4 separate regions of the Homo sapiens genome follow, and all the other regions are linked to region 2. The links are contacts of gene promoters, found by promoter capture Hi-C in blood cells and fetal thymus (Javierre and others, 2016). All regions are on one chromosome and are shown on one strand. Each heading gives the region's core, a stretch centred on a gene start or on the middle of the fragment in contact. The rest is flanking DNA. Distances are from core to core; before and after follow the strand shown. Region 1 overlaps ZFYVE9 (zinc finger FYVE-type containing 9). Region 2 holds the start of ZFYVE9 (zinc finger FYVE-type containing 9). Region 3 overlaps ZFYVE9 (zinc finger FYVE-type containing 9). Region 4 overlaps ZFYVE9 (zinc finger FYVE-type containing 9).

Region 1 (4,380 bases), core at 1,617-4,116, 140 kb before region 2:
TCATAACCAGAAGGCATTCTGAAACTCTCAGAACATAATTTCTCACAAATTATAATGTTTCCCTCCACTGCAGAATGCAAAAACTGTGTATGACAAAAAAGTGTGTGTGTATATATATGTGAAACACAGATACACACACATATATAGATATACAACACACATATGGTTATTAAATACCTGTAGTTTAGATTTTAAAATTCACAGGAAGTTATAAAAAAGTTCATTCAATAGCTCCTAAGGCTTTTCTGTGATTTAGGGCAGAATAACCCTAAGCTAGTAATACAGTATTCAAGGTTTCACACTCAGGAGAAATTTAAGATACAATTTGTCAATTTCACTCAATGTGCTACACAGAAGAGAAAAATAATAAATTGCGATACGTTTTTTTTTTTTTTTGAGACAGAGTCTCATTCTTGTTGCCCAAGCTGGAGTGCAATGGCACGATCTTGGCTCACTGCAACCTCTGCCTCCAGGGTTCAAGCAATTCTCCTGCCTCAGCCTCCCAAGTAGCTGGGATGACAGGCGCCCACCATCACACCCGGCTAATTTTTTGTATTTTTAGTAGAGATGGGGTTTCACCATGTTGGCCAGGATGGTCTTGAACTCCTGAGCTAAGGTGATCCACCCGGCTTGGCCTGCCAAAGTGCTGGGATTACAGGCATGAGCCACCGTGCCCAGCCTGCTATCATTTTAGAACAGTAGCCTCCAACCTTTTTGGCACCAGGGATGGGTTTTGTGGAAGACAATTTTTCCACGGACTGTGGGGAAGGGGAGACGGTTTCAGGATGATTCAAGCGCATTAAATTTATTGTGCACCTTATTTCTATTATTACATTGTAATATGTCATGAAATAATTATACAACTCACCATAATGTAGAATCAGTGGGATCCCTGAGCTTGTTTTCCTGCAACTAGACTGTCCCATCTGGGGGTGATGGGAGACAGTGACAGATTATCAGGCATTAGATTCTCATAAGGAGCACACAACCTAGATCCCTCACACGCGCAGTTCACAACAGGGTTCGCACTTCTATGAGAATCTAATACCGCTGCTGATCTGAGAGGAGGCAGAGCTCAGGCGCTAACGTGAGCAATGGGGAGCAGCTGTAAATACAGATGAAGCTTTACTTGCTTGCCTGCCCCTCACCTCTGCTGTGTGGCCTGGTTCCTAACAGGCCACGGACCAATACCAGTCCATGGCCTGTGGGTTGGGGACCCCGTTTTAGAACACCCAAAATATGCTTTTACTTATTAAAAAATTTATAGTGAAATATATCAAGCTATTACCCTGATTATCTAAAAATAAGGTTCTTAATAAATATGTATAGTATATAGATAATATATCTGTGTTTTTAAGAACTGATATATTATTAATGGTACACAGAGGCAACTGACATAATGTAAACAATACTGATCTGGGAGCTACAGTCCCAATTCTGCCACCAACTTGGTCTGTGATTTAGGTACGCCATTAACACTTCTAGGTCTGATTTTCCTTATCTAAAAAATGAAGAGTTTGTATTAAATTATCTAAAATGCCTTCTAGTCCCAATATTTGATGAGTTGTGAAATGATTCCTATTCAAGGAAAAACTCTTTCGTCTCACTTATGCTTTTGAAATGTTATTTCCTTAGATATACATATATATGTTCGTGTCCCTATCCTACATTATAGAAAATATTTTTAGTTGGCTTAGATGTATTATAGTCTGACCTTAGACTATCATTAGTATCTTGTAATCAGTTCCAAGTATTTTTGTTGTTTCAAAATTTTTGCAATAGTTCAAAATGGACTGAACTGACATATAAGTATCCTTTTTAAAAAAATAACCATTGCTGGGCGCGGTGGCTCACGCCTGTAATCCCAGCACTTTCGGAGGCCGAGGCGGGCGGATCACGAAGTCAGGAAATCAAGATCAGCCTGGCTAACACGGTGAAACCCCGTCTCTACTAAAAATACAAAAAATTAGCCAGGCGTGGTGGCGGGCGCCTGTAGTCCCAGCTACTTGGGAGGCTGGGGCAGGAGAATGGCGTGAACCTGGGAGGTGGAGCTTGCAGTGAGCTGAGATAGCGCCACTGCACTCCAGGCTGGGTGACAGAGCGAGACTCCATCTCAAAAAAAAAAAAAATTTATGCTAAACATATTTTAATAATTCATGCAATAATTCACATCCTCTCCTTGAGAGGATGTCTATCTCTCAGGATTCCATCTACAGCCGTAGTCTCTTCACACAGGCCTATCCCATTCACAACGATACTCTCAACTATCACAGGAAAGCTGTGTCTCCAAAATCTGTATTTTAACTCAGATCTATCTTCTGGGATCCATACCCATATAATCATCTGCCATTTTCATGTTTCATCTGATGTCATTATTTCAAATTCAGCACACTGAACAAAGAATTCCCTTACCTCTGCCAAATCTGTTATTCATCAAGATGGTGAATAGAAGAAGACCAACATACACTTAGGTGCTCAAGCGAGGAATCTGAGGCCAACCTTGACTTGTCCCCTCTAACCCCCTATATCCAGTTAGTTACCAAATCCTACTGAATTGAAGCACCACATCTTTCGTATCTCTCCAATACTCTTCTTTATTTCCACTGCAATTATTTAATTTAAATCCTGATAATTTCTTAATTTCTTGCTGGATTCCTGCAATATCTTTTTAAAAAATAAATTTTACTGAGGTATAATCTATATATTATAAAAATGATAGATTTTAAGTGTACATTTCAATGAGTTTTGGCAAACACCCACATAACCACTATCCTAATCCAGATATAGACCTCTCATCTCAGAAAGTTTTCTGGGACTCTCTGTAGTCAGTTCTAGCACCTGCACCCCCACCTCACTTTAGGCAAACACTGACCTAATTTCTATCACCAAAGATTAATTTTGCCTGTTTTAGAAAACCATATAAATGGAATCATCCAATATGTACTTTTTTGTGCCTGGCTTTTGCTCAGCATAATGTCTGTGAGATTCATGCATGTTGTTGTGTACATCAGCAGTTAGTTCATTTTTACTGTTGAGCAGTATTCTAGTGTATGAATATACATTTGCTTATCCTGAAATTGCTTCTTAACTGCCACCAGACTCACGGACTTTGATCCATTTTTCACACTGCTTCCAGAGTCATCTTTCTAAAATGCAAATCTGATTATGTCACTCATCATCTCAAATACTTTCAATGGTTCTTCATTGCCTACAGAATAAAGCATGGGCTCCTAAATAAGACATTCATGAACCTCCCATACCCTAGTCTCTAACACACTCTCAAAACCCACATGAATCTACAATTACTTGAACCTCCAATGCCATTTTTCTAGAGTGTTTAAAAGTGAATACATTCAGATTGAGGAGAAAAGTGAAAGTTCCCAGTTATTTCCAGGACTAAATTCAGCTCCAGGGTATTATGTGGCCTGGAGGACCTGGATGATTTCAGATTTAACCCTATACATTTTGGAACAGACAGGGTAAACATTAAAAGGTACTTCACAGGTATCATGTGGTCAGTTTCCAATGTATCACCTTGCCCTTATGTAATGCTACACCTAAATTATTGTAGAGACTAATGAAGACATAAAGGCACAATCTTTTACGCATAATCTACATCACATTAAAAATACAATTATATATCCTGCTTCTGTAATTATTTAAAGAGCATTTTCCATGTTACTACATTCTTTTCATAAATATTGTTTTAATGGCCAAAAAAAGTTCTCAAAAAGATCCTCACATCTAATAAGTATAACACAGTTAAACTTTCCACCTATAGCTAAGGCATTCAGGTTGCTTCTGAATTTTTGTGTTAAATTTAGGTAATGTTGCAATAAACCCTTTCATTCACAGAAGTGCATTTTATATTCTGGATACTGTCTTTGGCACAGAATCCCACAATGAAAATTATTGCATTAAGAAAGTCTGAATAATTTATTGTTTTAATATATGTATGAAATATTATCAAATAATACATGAAAATAGTTTTAATACCCCGGTCACCCTCACACCCTCTCCAGGCCTTCTTCCTCAAAGATAAACCCTATTTATCAAATACAGATATTATGTACTGACTTCCTGTTACAATAAACGAGAATAGTTCAATTACACCGTTTTTCTACCTCATTTGTTAAATCAAAGGGAGGCTGACTTTGTAATGTCAAATAACACAATGTCATAATAAATAACTATAATGTCAAATAATGTGTTTCTTTTCTCTCAATCTTAGTTTCTTTTTATGTTAATATCCTTAGTCTTTCCCAGCTTCTAACCTCTATGCTTTTACTTTTAAGTTGTTACAGTTAATATTTACAATTTATTTTGAAGCCATAGTCATGTATGCTAATTGTTTTTGAAATTTGAATATTCATTAGCATT
Region 2 (4,433 bases), core at 983-3,482:
TTTGAGATGGAGTCTCGCTCTGTTGCCCAGGCTAGAGTCAGTGGCCCAATCTTGGCTCACTGCAACGTCTGCCTCCCAGGTTCAAATGATTCTTGTGCCTCAGCCTCCCGAGTAGCTGGGGCTACAGGTGGGCACCACCATGCCAGCTAATTTTTGTATTTTTAGTAGAGACGGGGTTTCACCATATTGACCAGGCTGGTCTTGAACTTCTGACCTCATGATCCACCCGCCTCGGAGAGGGGCATCTTGCTTACGTTGCCCAAGCAGGACTGGAACTCCTAGGATCAAGGGGTCCTCCCCATTCAGCCTCCCTAGTAGGCCTAGCCATCACACTTTGCCTGAATTAGACTTTTAAAAATCGAGATTAACCTACCCAAATAACTGGTAATGAAGCCAATTTTTAAAAGAAATACTTAAAATCTGACAAAAACAATGCAAGGCTACAGCATCTAACACAGTAGGTCTTCAAAAACGTGTACCATGCCAAACTTTCTCCCTAGATGGAGACCCCATGCTGCATAGAAGGTTAAGTCAGGGATCTTTTAGGTAGTTACCCATATTCTTCTGTTTTAATTGATGAATTCAACATGGTTCCAATGTAATTTAGTAAAATATTTTTACAGGTCTTATACAAATGACAATGTAAAATGGAACAGTCAGATAATTTTAAACCTAATATACAGAAATAATAATTTTAAAAATCACTGTCAGTACGAGCCCATTATAAACCTGTACTGTTTACAATCTGTGAGATTATGGGTGATTTCTCCTATTATTAAATATTTATTAAGAGCCAACATGGTACCTTTCTATAATTCCCAAGTTTTCTACAATAAGCATATTTTTTCATGATTATAAAAGTTTTGCAAGTACCTATAAGTCTTATAACTTTCACATACATAACAGGAAAACAAGAATAACCTGTAATCACATTTCTCACAAAACATAAATATCTGACTTACGGTATCAAACTGTAATCAGTAGCATTTTCAACATTAATATCAGAACAAATCATTTTATTTCTAAAATTTAGCATGTATCCCATTTCCTTCAGGTATTTATTAGGGTAGCTGGCACTTAAAGAGGACTTAAAATCCTTTTGCCAACTATTCTCTGGATCTCTTTAAGTGGAACATTTTTGTACCGAACACTGAAGCATAAAAATATTTCTTCTGGCGGGGTGTGGGGGGCAGACCTTTGTAAAAGACGTTTTTATAACTGTGAGTGTTTATCTACAAAACTTAGCATCGCAAAGATGCGATGGGGCTTTCTCCAAGGCAGACCACGCTTAGAGGCAAGATATAATATAAAGAGGCAGGAATGAGCAACCGGCAGGTGATGAAATTTCACCTCAAATAAGACGCAAAAGGTTGTTCTCGAGCAAGCCAGATCCATGAATGACACTCCAGGAGTAGCAGGGGCTCTCTTGGTCCCGCACTCTCTGCACCCCCAATTCTCACCCTGGCCTTCCTCTCCTCCCCCTTTCCCCGCCACAACCGGGATTCTGAGGGACTCGGTATGGGACGCGTGGAAGCCAAAGCTTGTTTGCAAACAGGCGTCATCTGCCTCCCTCCGGGATGTACGTGCAGGGCCCGGGCTAAGAGGCTGCGCTCGGCCCGGGCCCATGCAAACCCGAAAGGCGGCCGTGCTCCTGCCGGCCCCCAGCTCCACACACCCGGCCGCGCCGGAACCGAGGCCGGAGCGAGGGCTTCCCAACGGCGCGGGGCCTAATCGCCCCCCACGGCCTTCAGCCTCCCGGGGGACGCGGGGAGAAAGGGCTGAGGCCCCAGGACCGCAGGGTGGGGGAGGCGACCGCAGTGGCAGGACGCCCCGTCCGCCCGGCCCGCGGTCTGCCGCCAGGGCCCCCACAGGCGGCGGGAGGCCGGCGAGCCCCGGACCACGCCGCGCCACACTCACCTCGAGCAGCGGCCGCCTCCGCTTCAGCATGGCCACGGGGGTCGTCCCTGAGCCGAAAGCCTCCTCCGGAGGGCACCGGCGCGGCCCCAGGCGCCGCCGCGAAACCTCCCACTCCTGTAGGAGCTGCGGTAGCCGCAGCTGCGGCTGCTACTGCTGCTAAGGCCCGGCACCCGCCCAGCCGCATCGGCGCCCGGGCCGCGGCAGCCACGCGGATCCCGGAGGAGCGCCGCCGAGCCGGGCCGGGGGCGCAAGGCTGCGGCGGGACGACCGAGGTGCGGCAGGCGGGGATCCTCAGCGAAGCCTCCAGCGTCGGGTGGCCGCTCCTGCCGCCGGCGCCGCTGGGCCACAGCGCCCCCTGGACCCCACGTCCGGCTACGGCGTCGGGACTGCGGCGGCCGCGCTGGGCACGAGCCGCAGGGAACGCTAAGGAGCGCGGCCTGGGGGCGGCGAGGGCCCCGTGCTCCCTGCGTAGCCCGCGGCCCGCGGCCGGCCCGGGACTCCGCTTCCCGGGAACCGGAAGCCCCTCAGTTCCCACCAACCCCTGGCGTTCCCCGCCCCCGCCAGACCCGAGCACCTTTTCGTTCTCTCCCGAAGATACGTGAACGTTCTTGTCACTCGGACCCGCACCTGAGAGCAGGAATATAAGGGAATCTCCGTTTGACTCTCACGGTTTCGGGGGTGGCAGGGAGACCCCCTTCTAATTCCTTTAATGCGTCTGGATGAAAGAAGAGTGACCCAGAACAAACCTTTTTTTCAAACATACACACTCGTCTCCCAAAACAGACGAAGGAATTGTCTTTGACCTTAACTTGTTTTTTTATCTACTGTGTAGATCATTAAGAAATTTTCTACAGATATCAACCAAACCCTTAACACCTAAACCACCACCCCCACAAAACAAAAATGAAAAAAAAATACATACATATATATATATGCCAAGCCAGAGAAGAGAATAGCCAACGGGTTGTCCTGAAATTCATAAACAACTTAAAGGTAAGCAAAGAATCACCCATCTTTTACTAACATCCTCTCCCTCCCAACCTCTTCTCTCCCACCTTTCCACCCCTCATCCCAGGCAAATCCTAGTAAGGCTCTGAAGGAAGGAAATTATTACACAGTGGGGGCTATGGAATCATTCTGTTTACAGATGCCCCATATTTGATCCCAGTCAGCCTCTAGGGTGCAAACATCAGAACCAAAAACAAACACGACTGTCAGAGGGGAAGTAGGGAAAGAAAATTCTCCAAATCCTCTGATCCCTAAATTTTCCAAATACACTTTTTTAACAGAGTGGTATACTAGAATGTGTAGTGATTTTGGTGTCAGACACATACCAACACTACCAGTTCCAGTTCTGTCATGTATATATAGCTTTATGACCCTGGGGAAGTTATGTAACATTTTTGAACTTCAGTTTTCTCCTGCCTGCCTTGCTGGTTGTTGAAGATTGGAGATAAAGAGACTGGCCCATAGAAGATACTTAATAAATGTTAGTTACAATTTTTATTGGTTCCAGTTCTTTTTCTTAGGCTCAATTTTGTACTCCTCTGTTTTTGTTTCTCATTCTCTCTCTCTCTCTCTCTCTCTCTGTGTGTGTGTATGTGTGTGTGTATGTGTGTGTGTAACTGTATTTCTGTCAAAAGATAGATGCTCCATTCTTCATCCTCCCTAGTCTGGGTGAAATTTCCCTAAATTTCACTAATGGGTTTATGTAACACCCCTCCATGGAAGAATAGAGCCTCATACACTGGATCCTATGACATTCTGTTGCACAGCAGATAGCAGCATGCAACCAGTATTTTTTATGTATAAAAAATGTTATAAGGCAATCTCACCTTACCTTAGGTTATGGCCTAATGATGATAAATAATAGAAACTACAAAAGGTCTCCAGGAATCATTCATTTAATAATTGAGCAGCCACCATGGAGAAGATGTCACCTAGTAGCTCTCTTAATGAAAGCTGTTCCTGCATAATCCTAAGTGTGCCTTTGCCACATACTCCTGAGTCACAAAAAAATCACTATGCCCTTTCTATAACAAGAGAAACTGGGGCTCAAAGGGAAACCATGATTCATCCTCGCAGTGATTCTATGAGTTAGGTCCTATGCTACCATTTTACATGTGAAATATATCCAACCTAAGGAAGAGCTGGAAGTAGACCCTGAGATTCCCTTCAGTCCCCAACCTGATGCCCCAACAGTCCTTTCAACAATATTAACAAAATGCTGTAAGGGTCATTTGTTGCTAAAAAATGTTTAGTCAAGGGAAAAGGGCCCTTCAACTGATTGAGATCATTAGCGCTGTAACCTAATATTAGCACTGTATTTTTCATGCCTAGATCACTGCCACCACAGGAAACCTGCATTTGTTTATGAATAATCATGCAACCCAGGGCATAGCTACTACATGAAGAAGATGATTCATTTGTTCCCAAGACCAGTTTCCTCTTGCTTCACACTTTCTCTCCTTGTTGCTGAAAGCAGCTGCCTTTATCATCACAACCTCCCCGCTGAT
Region 3 (4,390 bases), core at 1,416-3,915, 160 kb before region 2:
TCTGAGATTGGAGTGGGTGCTGACAGCAGGGAAAAGCCAGGCAGTAGGAGCAGGCATTTCCAGGGCTGTAAGGGAGGGGGGCCTTCCCAAGCACGAGGATGCCTGGGTCCGTAGCCACAACTCGGGTAGCTACAGCTGTGCCTGCAAGGGGGGAGCTCCTGCCTGCTCCATGGAGCAGAAGGCCCAGGTCTGCAGCCATAACTTGGGCAGCTGCACCTTGGGAGGCCCACCCCACCAACTCGGAAGGGGTGGGGCTCCCACTTGTCCCCGGCTCCTACAGGCTCCACGGAGTATGCAGCCCTGGCAGCACCACCCTGCTGCAGCCAGCATGATGGCAGCAGCCACTCCAGACAGGCCACTGATGCCATCATTTTCCTGGACAGCAAACGCTCCGAAAGCAGGCATAAGGTTTTTGTTTGTTTGTTTTTTTGAGACAGAGTTTTGCTCTTGTCGCCCAGGCTGGAGTCCAATGGTGAGATCTCAGCTCACTGCAACCTCTGCCTCCCATGTTCAAGCAATTCTCCTGCCTCAGCCTCCCGAGTAGCTGGCATTACAGGCACCCAGCCAATGTTTGTATTTTTAGTAGAGACGGGGTTTCACCACGTTGGCCAGGCTGGTCTCAAACTCCTGACGTCAGGTGATCCACCTGCCTTGGCCTCCCAAAGTGCTGGGATTACAAGTGTGAGCCATCGCGCTTGGCCAGCAGGCCTAATGTTCTTATCTCATCTTTATATTTCAAATCACAGAATATATTTAATACATGTTTGTGAAATAGACAATAATATTTCAAATTTGAGAAATAAAATAGGTTTTCAAAGCACAATCTCTTTTAAAATTCTTTAGGCCATGAAAGATTGCATTACTGCACTCCAGCCTGGGCAACAGAGCAAGATCTGTGAACTACAAATAGTTCACTTTAAAGATTTGACTCTACCTAGTCTCATCGATTACTCCTTGATACTCCAAGGCAGGATTATCTAAATGCTGAAGACTGCTAGTTGTATCCCAGAAAAAAGTAAGCACACATTCTAGCTACTATTTTCTAATATCCTTAAAAAAAAAAAAATCACGTGGAAAGTCATGGCTAAAAGCTTTCTTCACAGAGGTCATTCTCATAATAATGCTGAGAACTGAGCTCACAAATCCAATAAAACATCTGTGTGATTCTACGTGCATACCAAGTACATAATGTTTATTCAACGCATAAATGATTTAGTGGCTAAATGAAGAAAAAATGAAATGAAAAAGGAAAAAAAAAGGAAAAAGGAAGGAAAAATTATTTTATACAAAGAAACCCGGCTGGGCACAGTGGCTCGTGCCTGTAATCCCAGCACTTTGGGAGGCCGAGGTGGGTGGATCACCTGAGATTAAGAGTTTGAGACCAGTCTGGCTAACATGGTGAAACCTCGTCTCTACTAAAAATACAAAAATTAGCCAGGCATGGTGGCGGGTGCCTGTAATCCCAGCTACTTGGGAGGCTGAGGCAGAAGAATCACTTGAACCCAGGAGGCAGAGGTTGCAGTGAGCTGAGATCACACCATTGCACTCCAGCCTGGGCGACACAGTGAGACTCCATCTCAAAAAATAAATAAATAAATAAATAAATATTTATAGTAGGAGTGGGGACATTTTAAAAATCTCACCACTAATATTACAGATACAAGGCTAATTTCATGACCTAATCAAAATGCAAATCTAATACTAATTATCATAACATCAAAAGGTAAAATGACACATCCAATGAACCACTAGGTCAGAAATTTGACATCTTGTCTTCCTGTAATGAAATTCCCCATAATTGAACTAAGCCATACAATATTATTAACTGATTTCATTGTTAATTAATTATAAGTAAAATTTATATATAATCATGCATTTTTCACCTTCACTCATGTTTTCAACTATGAAAAATACGCCTTCATGGTAAATCTTACCTCATTGTATCTGTTGCTGGGAATTTTGATGCTAGTTTTCCGAACTTCCATATCAACCACCAAACCTTGAACTACTGGCAAGGTATACTGGTAATTTCTGAAGTCCTGGGCCAAAGCAGATTGAAGCAGAATAAATTAATTCATCAATGGTAGGGTTTAATTTATAGTAATAAAATTAACACGAATGGAAAAAATGTCAATATTGAAAGATCCTATTTATTTAAATAATAAGGAAATGTATAATGAAAGCCCCACTATATGTATTTTAGCTCTTTAGTCTTTAAACTCTTATAAGTAAACCAAACATTATCATATACCTCTTATACACAACATTAAAAAATATTTTTGAATGTCTACCCTGCTTTACCACCACTTAACATTTTCTGTATTTATTTGTTAACTATCTGTCTCCTCCCTCTGAAGCTCCAAGAGAGTACAAACTCTCAGTTGTGTTGTTCTTGCTATATCCTTAACGCCTGGAACATCTTAGGCACTCAATGAATATCTGTAAGGAAACACACACACACACTAACACATCATCTATCCAGTATGGGTGAAACAAAATGAACAAGAGTGGTGGACTCAAGGTCAAAGTAATAGCAAATGGCTAGATTTCATAGGTTCTTATAGGTCACCGTGAGGACTTTTGCCTTTAGGAGGCTTTTGACCTGTTTTAACAGATCTGACTCCTTGGTAATGAATAGGTGGTAAGGGAGGAAGAATGGAAGAAAAGATCAGATAAATACCATAAAAACAATCAAGGTAGGAGATAGTGAGAGCTTAGACCAGGATGTTAACAGTTTATTTATTTATTCTGAGATGGAGTCTCACTCTGTTGCCCGAGCTGGAGTGCAGTGGTGCCATCTTGGCTCAGTACAACCTCCGCCTCCAGGGTTCAAGCGAGTCTCATGCCTCAGCTTCCCAAGTAGCTGGGATTACATATGTGCGTCACCATGCTCGGCTAATTTTTGTATTTTTAGTAGAGACAAGGTTTCACCATGTTGGCCAGACTGGTCTTGAACTCCCAACCTCAGGTGATCCACCTGCCTCGGTCTCTCAAAGTGCTACAATTACAGTCGTGAGCCACTGCACCTGGCCAGGATGTTAACAGTTTAAAAAGTGATGAGAAGTTGTCAGTTTCTAGATATATAGATACAGATTTTTTTTTTTTTCCTGAGACAGAGTCTCGCTCTGTTAACCAGGCTGGAGTGCAGTGGCGCAATCTTGGCTCACTGAATCCTCTGCCTCCCAGGTTCAAGCAATTCTACTGCCTCAGCCTCCCAAGTAGCTGGGATTACAGGAATGCACCACCAGGCCCAGATAATTTTTGTATTTTTAGTAGAGATGGGGTTTTGCCATGTTGGCCAGGCTGGTCTCAAACTCCTGACCTCAGCTGATCCGCCCACCTTGGCCTCCCAAAATGCTGGGATTACAAGTGTGAGCCACTGCGCCCAGCCTGTTTCCAGACATATTTTAAAGGAAAATCTGATAATATTTGCCACTGTGGATGTGGAATGTGAACAAATGATAAAAGTTAAAGATGATTCTAAATTTTATAGCCAGGGCTACTAGAAGACTGGAACTGCCATTTACTGAAATGTAGAATATGATGTGAGATGGAGGGTTTTTCTAAGTAACTTGACTTCATTACTTGCAAAAAAAGCTCAAGAATATTGATAACCAGCACCCAACTGGTAAAATCAGAATGTCTGGCAACCAATAAAAAAATACCAAACATTCAAAGAAGCAGGAAAATACAACTCAAAATAAAGGAAAAAAAATCAATCCATGGAAACGGAGCCAGAACTTATACAAGAAGTTAGAATTACTAAAGGCATTACAATAGTTATTATATTGTATTCTACATGTACAAAATGTTAAGCAGAGACATAAAAGATCTTAAAAGACCCAAGTATAACTTCAAGAGATGAAAATCAAAGTATTTGATTGAGATTGTTTAAAAGATTGATAGAATTAACAGCAGCTTAAACCAAAATAAAAGATTAGTGAAATTGAGAGCACAGCAATAAAATTCATCCTAAATGAAAACAAGAGACAAAAAAGACTGAAAAAGAAATAAAAAGAACATTAGTAAGACGTGAAACAATTTCAAGCAGCCTGATATATATGTAATTGGAGTAATCTCCTTCAGGGAGAGAAGGGGATGAACAGAAAAAATATCAGATGAAAACTATAAACCCATAGATTCAAAAAGCTCAATGAACCCCAAGTACGGGAAACATGAAAACTACACTATGGCACATTATAATCAATTTGCTTCAAACTTGTAATTTTAAAAAGCTTTTGAAACTAGCCAGAGAAGGTCAGGCACAGTGGCTCATGCATGTAATCCCAATACTTTGGGAGGCTGAGGTGGAAGGATAGCTTGAGCCCAGGAGTTGGAGACCAGTCTGAGAAACACTGCGAGGCCTTGTCTGTATAAAAAATAAACAAAA
Region 4 (4,259 bases), core at 382-2,881, 180 kb before region 2:
CAGCTATTTTTTTTTTTTTTTTTTTTTGGTATTGAGTAGAGACAGGGTTTCACCATGTTGGTCAAGCTGGTCTTGAACTCCTGACCTTAGGTGATCCACCCACCTTGACCTCCCAAAGTGCTGGGATTACAGGCATGATCCACCATGCCTGGCCTTCGACCAACAGTATCTGAATACTGGCCTTGCTCGTAACTATCTGTGTGTCTTTGGTAAACTTACTTAACCTCTCTGTGTCCCAGGACCCTCTTCTATAAAATGTGATAATAAAAGTAACTATTTCATAGAGTTATGAGAGTTAGATAAATTAATATTTACAAAGTGCTTAGGACAGCATCAAACATATAATAAGTACTCTTTTAACAAACAATTTGTTAAATAAAATTTGTATGCTCATCTTCCCTACCCTGCCTACTGAACCTTACAGCAACCTTAAAATCAGCAGCAAATAATTCAACCAGGTAGCTCCTATACCTCTTATAAGATAATGAAATTAAAGACCTTTCCTAAAAGTTTACAAATTATTGAGAATGACATACCAGTAAAAGGCAGAGAAACAACTGCTGTAACAACAGAATGTGCAAAGTACGTAACATTTCCAGAGCACCAACCATGAACCAGGCACTGAGCAAGCTGAGCTAAATGCTACAGGAGCATTATCTCATAAGAACCATTTTAGCACATCAAGTGAAACAGCACGAGCTTTACCTCCCGGTGTTTCCCACCCTTGGAGTCCCGGAAAAATCACAGGAGCCAATTAAAAGAACACAGTTCTATGAATGATTATGCTGCAGAAGTGTGTGAAGAGTTATAACACCTAATCCATCTTTCAGTTAACACATCATGTACTTCCAATTTCCTCTCTGAGATCTCATGTTTAAAAAATGACTAGCCTTTCGATTTGAACTGGAAAGGATTTATAGAGGAGTTTAAGCAGAGTGTTGAGGAGTGGATACAATTTGTATATGTGTTAGGCTTAGCATAGGGCCTTTGTCATGGCAGGCACTCCATAAATACTTGCTGAATATACTAGTTAGTAAACCGAATAAGTAGGAATAGATTTGGATGGCTTGTAATAGTCATAAAACTATACTGAGAGTTAATGTGGTTAGCACGATTTTCTTTTAAATCTTGATTCACTTGTAATTAGTGTCACATAGATTGGGTATCTAATAAAATAAGTTTCTGTTTTTGTTTTTATTTCTTGAGACAGTCTCGCCTTCTCGTTCAGGCTGGGGTGCAGTGGCATGATCACTGCTCACTGCAGCCTTGACCTCTGGGGCTCAGGTGACCCTCCCACCTCAACCTCCCAAGAAGTTGGGACTACAGGTATGTGCCACCACACCTGGCTAATTCTTTTATTTTTTATGTATTTATTTATTTATTTAATTTTTTAGAGATGGAGTCTCGCTCTGTCGCCCAGGCTAGAGTGCAGTGGTGCAGTCTCGGCTCACTGCAAGCTCTGCCTCCCACGTTCACACCATTCTCCTGCCTCAGCCTCACTGCAAGCTCTGCCTCCCGGGTTCACACCATTCTCCTGCCTCAGCCTCCCGAGTAGCTGGGACTACAGGGGCCCACCACCACATCCAGCTAATTTTTTGTATTTTTAGTAGAGATAGGGTTTCACCATGTTAGCCAGGATGGTCTTGATCTCCTGACCTCATGATCCGCCCGCCTCAGCCTCCCAAAGTGTTGGGATTACAGGCGTGAGCCACCACGCCCAGCCTAATTCTTTTATTTTTAATTTTGTATGGATGGGGTCTTTCTTACTATGTTGCCAAGGCTGGTTTCAAATCTTGGGGCTAAAGTGATCCTCCCTCCTCAGCCTCCCAAAGTGCTGGAACGACAGGCGTGAGCCACTGTACCCGGCCAAATAAAATAAGTTTTAGTGATTCAGTTCTACAAACATTATCAAGTGATTAACAAAGGCTTTAGACAGGAAGATCCAGTACAAAGGTGTGAAAAATCTATGAAAAGTGAACAACTACAAGGATACAGGGAAGCATGAAAGACTTACTCTCTGCCCTCAAGAGGCTCACAATTCAGAGGACAGGATTCACACCCATCATCCTGTGCATGTTACAGAAATAAAGAACAACAGGAAAATGGAGGAGAAAAACAGTGACACTGTCTAGGGGATGGAGAATTCTAGGGAGGTTTGCTAAAGGCTATCAGGTATATAAAAAGAATATTTTGGACAGAGGAAACAGCATAAGTGAGGAACAGAACTAGAAGTGAGAAAGAAACACTGAGCTGAAGAACGATGGAAAAGGTGGAAGAATATACTTTCTTGGAGTAATTTTAAGAAAAATGTAAATACGTACCCTTCCAGTTAGCTGAAATTCACTAGTGTCCAGAGGCTAGACCCCATCTTCAAGTCCTATGAATCTACATATTGACAACTATGAGTCTTCATTCAATCTGTTTTGTTTTGTTTTTGTTTTTGTTTTTGTGTGTGTGTGTGTGTGTGTTTTTGAGACAGGGTCTTGTTCTGTTGCCCCGGCTGGAGTGCAGTGGCATAATCATAGCTTACTGCAGTCTCCAACTCTTGGGCTCAAGTGAGCCTCCCACCTCAGCCTCCCAGGTACACAGACTATAGCTATGTACCACTATGCCCAGCTATCTTTATTTTCATTTGTTTTTTTGTGGTTATTTTTTTTTTTTGAGACTGAGTCTTGCTCTTGTTGCCCAGGCTGGAGTGCAATGGCACAATCTCAGTTCACTGCAATCTCCGCCAACCAGGTACAAGCAATTCTCCTGTCTCAGCCTCTCAAGTAGCTCAAATTACAGGCATGCGCCATCACGCCTGGCTTTTTTTTTTTTTTTTTGTATTTAGTAGAGACGGGGTTTCACCACGTTAGTCAGGGTGGTTGTGAACTCCGGACCTCAGGAGTGATTCTCCTGCCTCAGCCTCCCGAATAGCTGGGATTATAGGCATGTGCTGCCATGCCCGCCTAATTTTTGTTATTTTTTGGTAGAGATGGGTTTCACCATGATAGCCAGGCTGCTCTCAAACACCTGACCTGAAGTGACCCTCCCTCCTTGGCCTCCCAATGTGCTGGGATTACAGGCATGAGGCAAAGTGCCTGGCCCTCTGGCCTACTTTTATTTTGTAGAGCTGAGGTCTCACGCTATGTGCCCAGGCTGCCTTCACTCATTCATTTAGAAAATACTTATTCATTTAGCCAATGGGCATTGAGTATCTAATACGTGCCAGACACTGTTTTAGTGCTTGCTTTATTCAGTAGTAGACAAGCAAACAAATTCCTGCCCTCACAGAGCTTATATTCTTGTGTGTAGGAGGAGGAGACAAAAACAATAAACAAATAAGTAAAATACATAAAACTATTATACAATGACAAGTGCTACAGAGAAAAATAAAACATGGAAGGAGGACTGGGAGTATTGGTGGGTACAATTTTAAATAGGAGAGTCAGAGGATGTCTTACTGAAAAAAGTGAGGGAAAAGCCAAAGGCTTTTATCCCACTGCATGGGGATACGTGCAAGGCCCTGGAGGGCAGTAAGGTAGCATGCCCTGGAATTTCAAGGAACACTGAGGACAGTGTGGCCAGAGCTGAGTGACAGAAAAGGAATAGTTATAAAAAATGAGGTCACAGAGGGCCGGGCGTGGTGGCTCACACCTGTAGTCCCAGCACTTTGGGAGGCCAAGATGGGCGGATCACGAGGTCAGGAGATCAAGACCATCCTGGCTAACACGGTGAAACCCTGTCTCTACTAAAAATACAAAAAATTAGCTGGGCGCGGTGGCAGGCGCCTATAGTCCCAGCTACTCAGGAGGCTGAGGCAGGAGAATGGCGTGAACCTGGGAGGCAGAGTTTGCAGTGAGCTGAGATCGCGCCACTGCACTCCAGCCTGGGCGATAGAGCGAGACTCTGTCTCCAAAAAAGAAAAAAAGAGATCACAGAGATAATGAGTCGAGAAATACAAATGGTGTAGAGGACTTGTGTCATTCTGATTGGGATGAAAAATCTGTGGAAGGTTTTAAGCAGAGGAGTGATATGATATGACTTAGTTTTGAAAGGACCAGGCTGGGCATGGTGGCTCACTCCTGTAATCCCAATACTTTGGGAGGCCAAGGCGGGCAGGTCACAAGGTCAGGAGTTCGAGACCAGCCTGGCCAATATAGTGAAACCCCGTCTCTACTAAAAACACAAAAATTAGCCGGGCATGGTGGTGCACACCTGTAGTCCCAGCTACTCGGGAGGCTGAGGAAGAAGAATCGCTTGAACCCGGGAGGCGG

The links. The method cuts DNA at HindIII sites, captures the fragments that hold promoters and counts their contacts. A CHiCAGO score of 5 or more calls a contact.
Region 1: a contact is called between a fragment that was not itself captured here and the fragment with the promoter of ZFYVE9 in region 2, in 3 of 17 cell types (M1 macrophages, M0 macrophages and endothelial precursors). The highest score is 6.1, in M1 macrophages.
Region 3: a fragment that was not itself captured here is called in contact with the fragment with the promoter of ZFYVE9 in region 2 in 4 of 17 cell types (M1 macrophages, M2 macrophages, M0 macrophages and 1 more); the score reaches 10.2 in M1 macrophages.
Region 4: a contact is called between a fragment that was not itself captured here and the fragment with the promoter of ZFYVE9 in region 2, in 1 of 17 cell types (endothelial precursors). The highest score is 5.1, in endothelial precursors.

Annotation. Positions count from the first base shown.
Region 1 is chr1:52,282,173-52,286,552 of GRCh38, reverse strand. The region is part of intron 10 of ZFYVE9 (zinc finger FYVE-type containing 9); the gene reads right to left. Among named protein-coding and RNA genes, the nearest start is that of CC2D1B, 82 kb to the left of the region's middle. The HindIII fragment of the contact is 3,481 bases long and covers 1,126-4,380 here.
Region 2 is chr1:52,139,888-52,144,320 of GRCh38, reverse strand. ZFYVE9 (zinc finger FYVE-type containing 9) reads right to left here and starts at 2,232. Exons shown (of 19, transcript NM_004799.4): 1 at 1,918-2,232. LOC107984956 (collagen alpha-2(I) chain-like) reads right to left here. Exons shown (of 5, transcript XM_047439476.1): 2 at 3,032-3,128; 3 at 2,840-2,886; 4 at 1,918-2,544. RefSeq lists a silencer at 1,573-2,432. The HindIII fragment of the contact is 13,456 bases long and covers 1,543-4,433 here.
Region 3 is chr1:52,301,470-52,305,859 of GRCh38, reverse strand. It overlaps ZFYVE9 (zinc finger FYVE-type containing 9), which reads right to left. Exons shown (of 19, transcript NM_004799.4): 13 at 1,935-2,039. Among named protein-coding and RNA genes, the nearest start is that of CC2D1B, 63 kb to the left of the region's middle. The HindIII fragment of the contact is 3,144 bases long and covers 1,094-4,237 here.
Region 4 is chr1:52,322,462-52,326,720 of GRCh38, reverse strand. All of the region lies in intron 13 of ZFYVE9 (zinc finger FYVE-type containing 9), which reads right to left. Among named protein-coding and RNA genes, the nearest start is that of CC2D1B, 42 kb to the left of the region's middle. The HindIII fragment of the contact is 6,065 bases long and covers 1-4,259 here.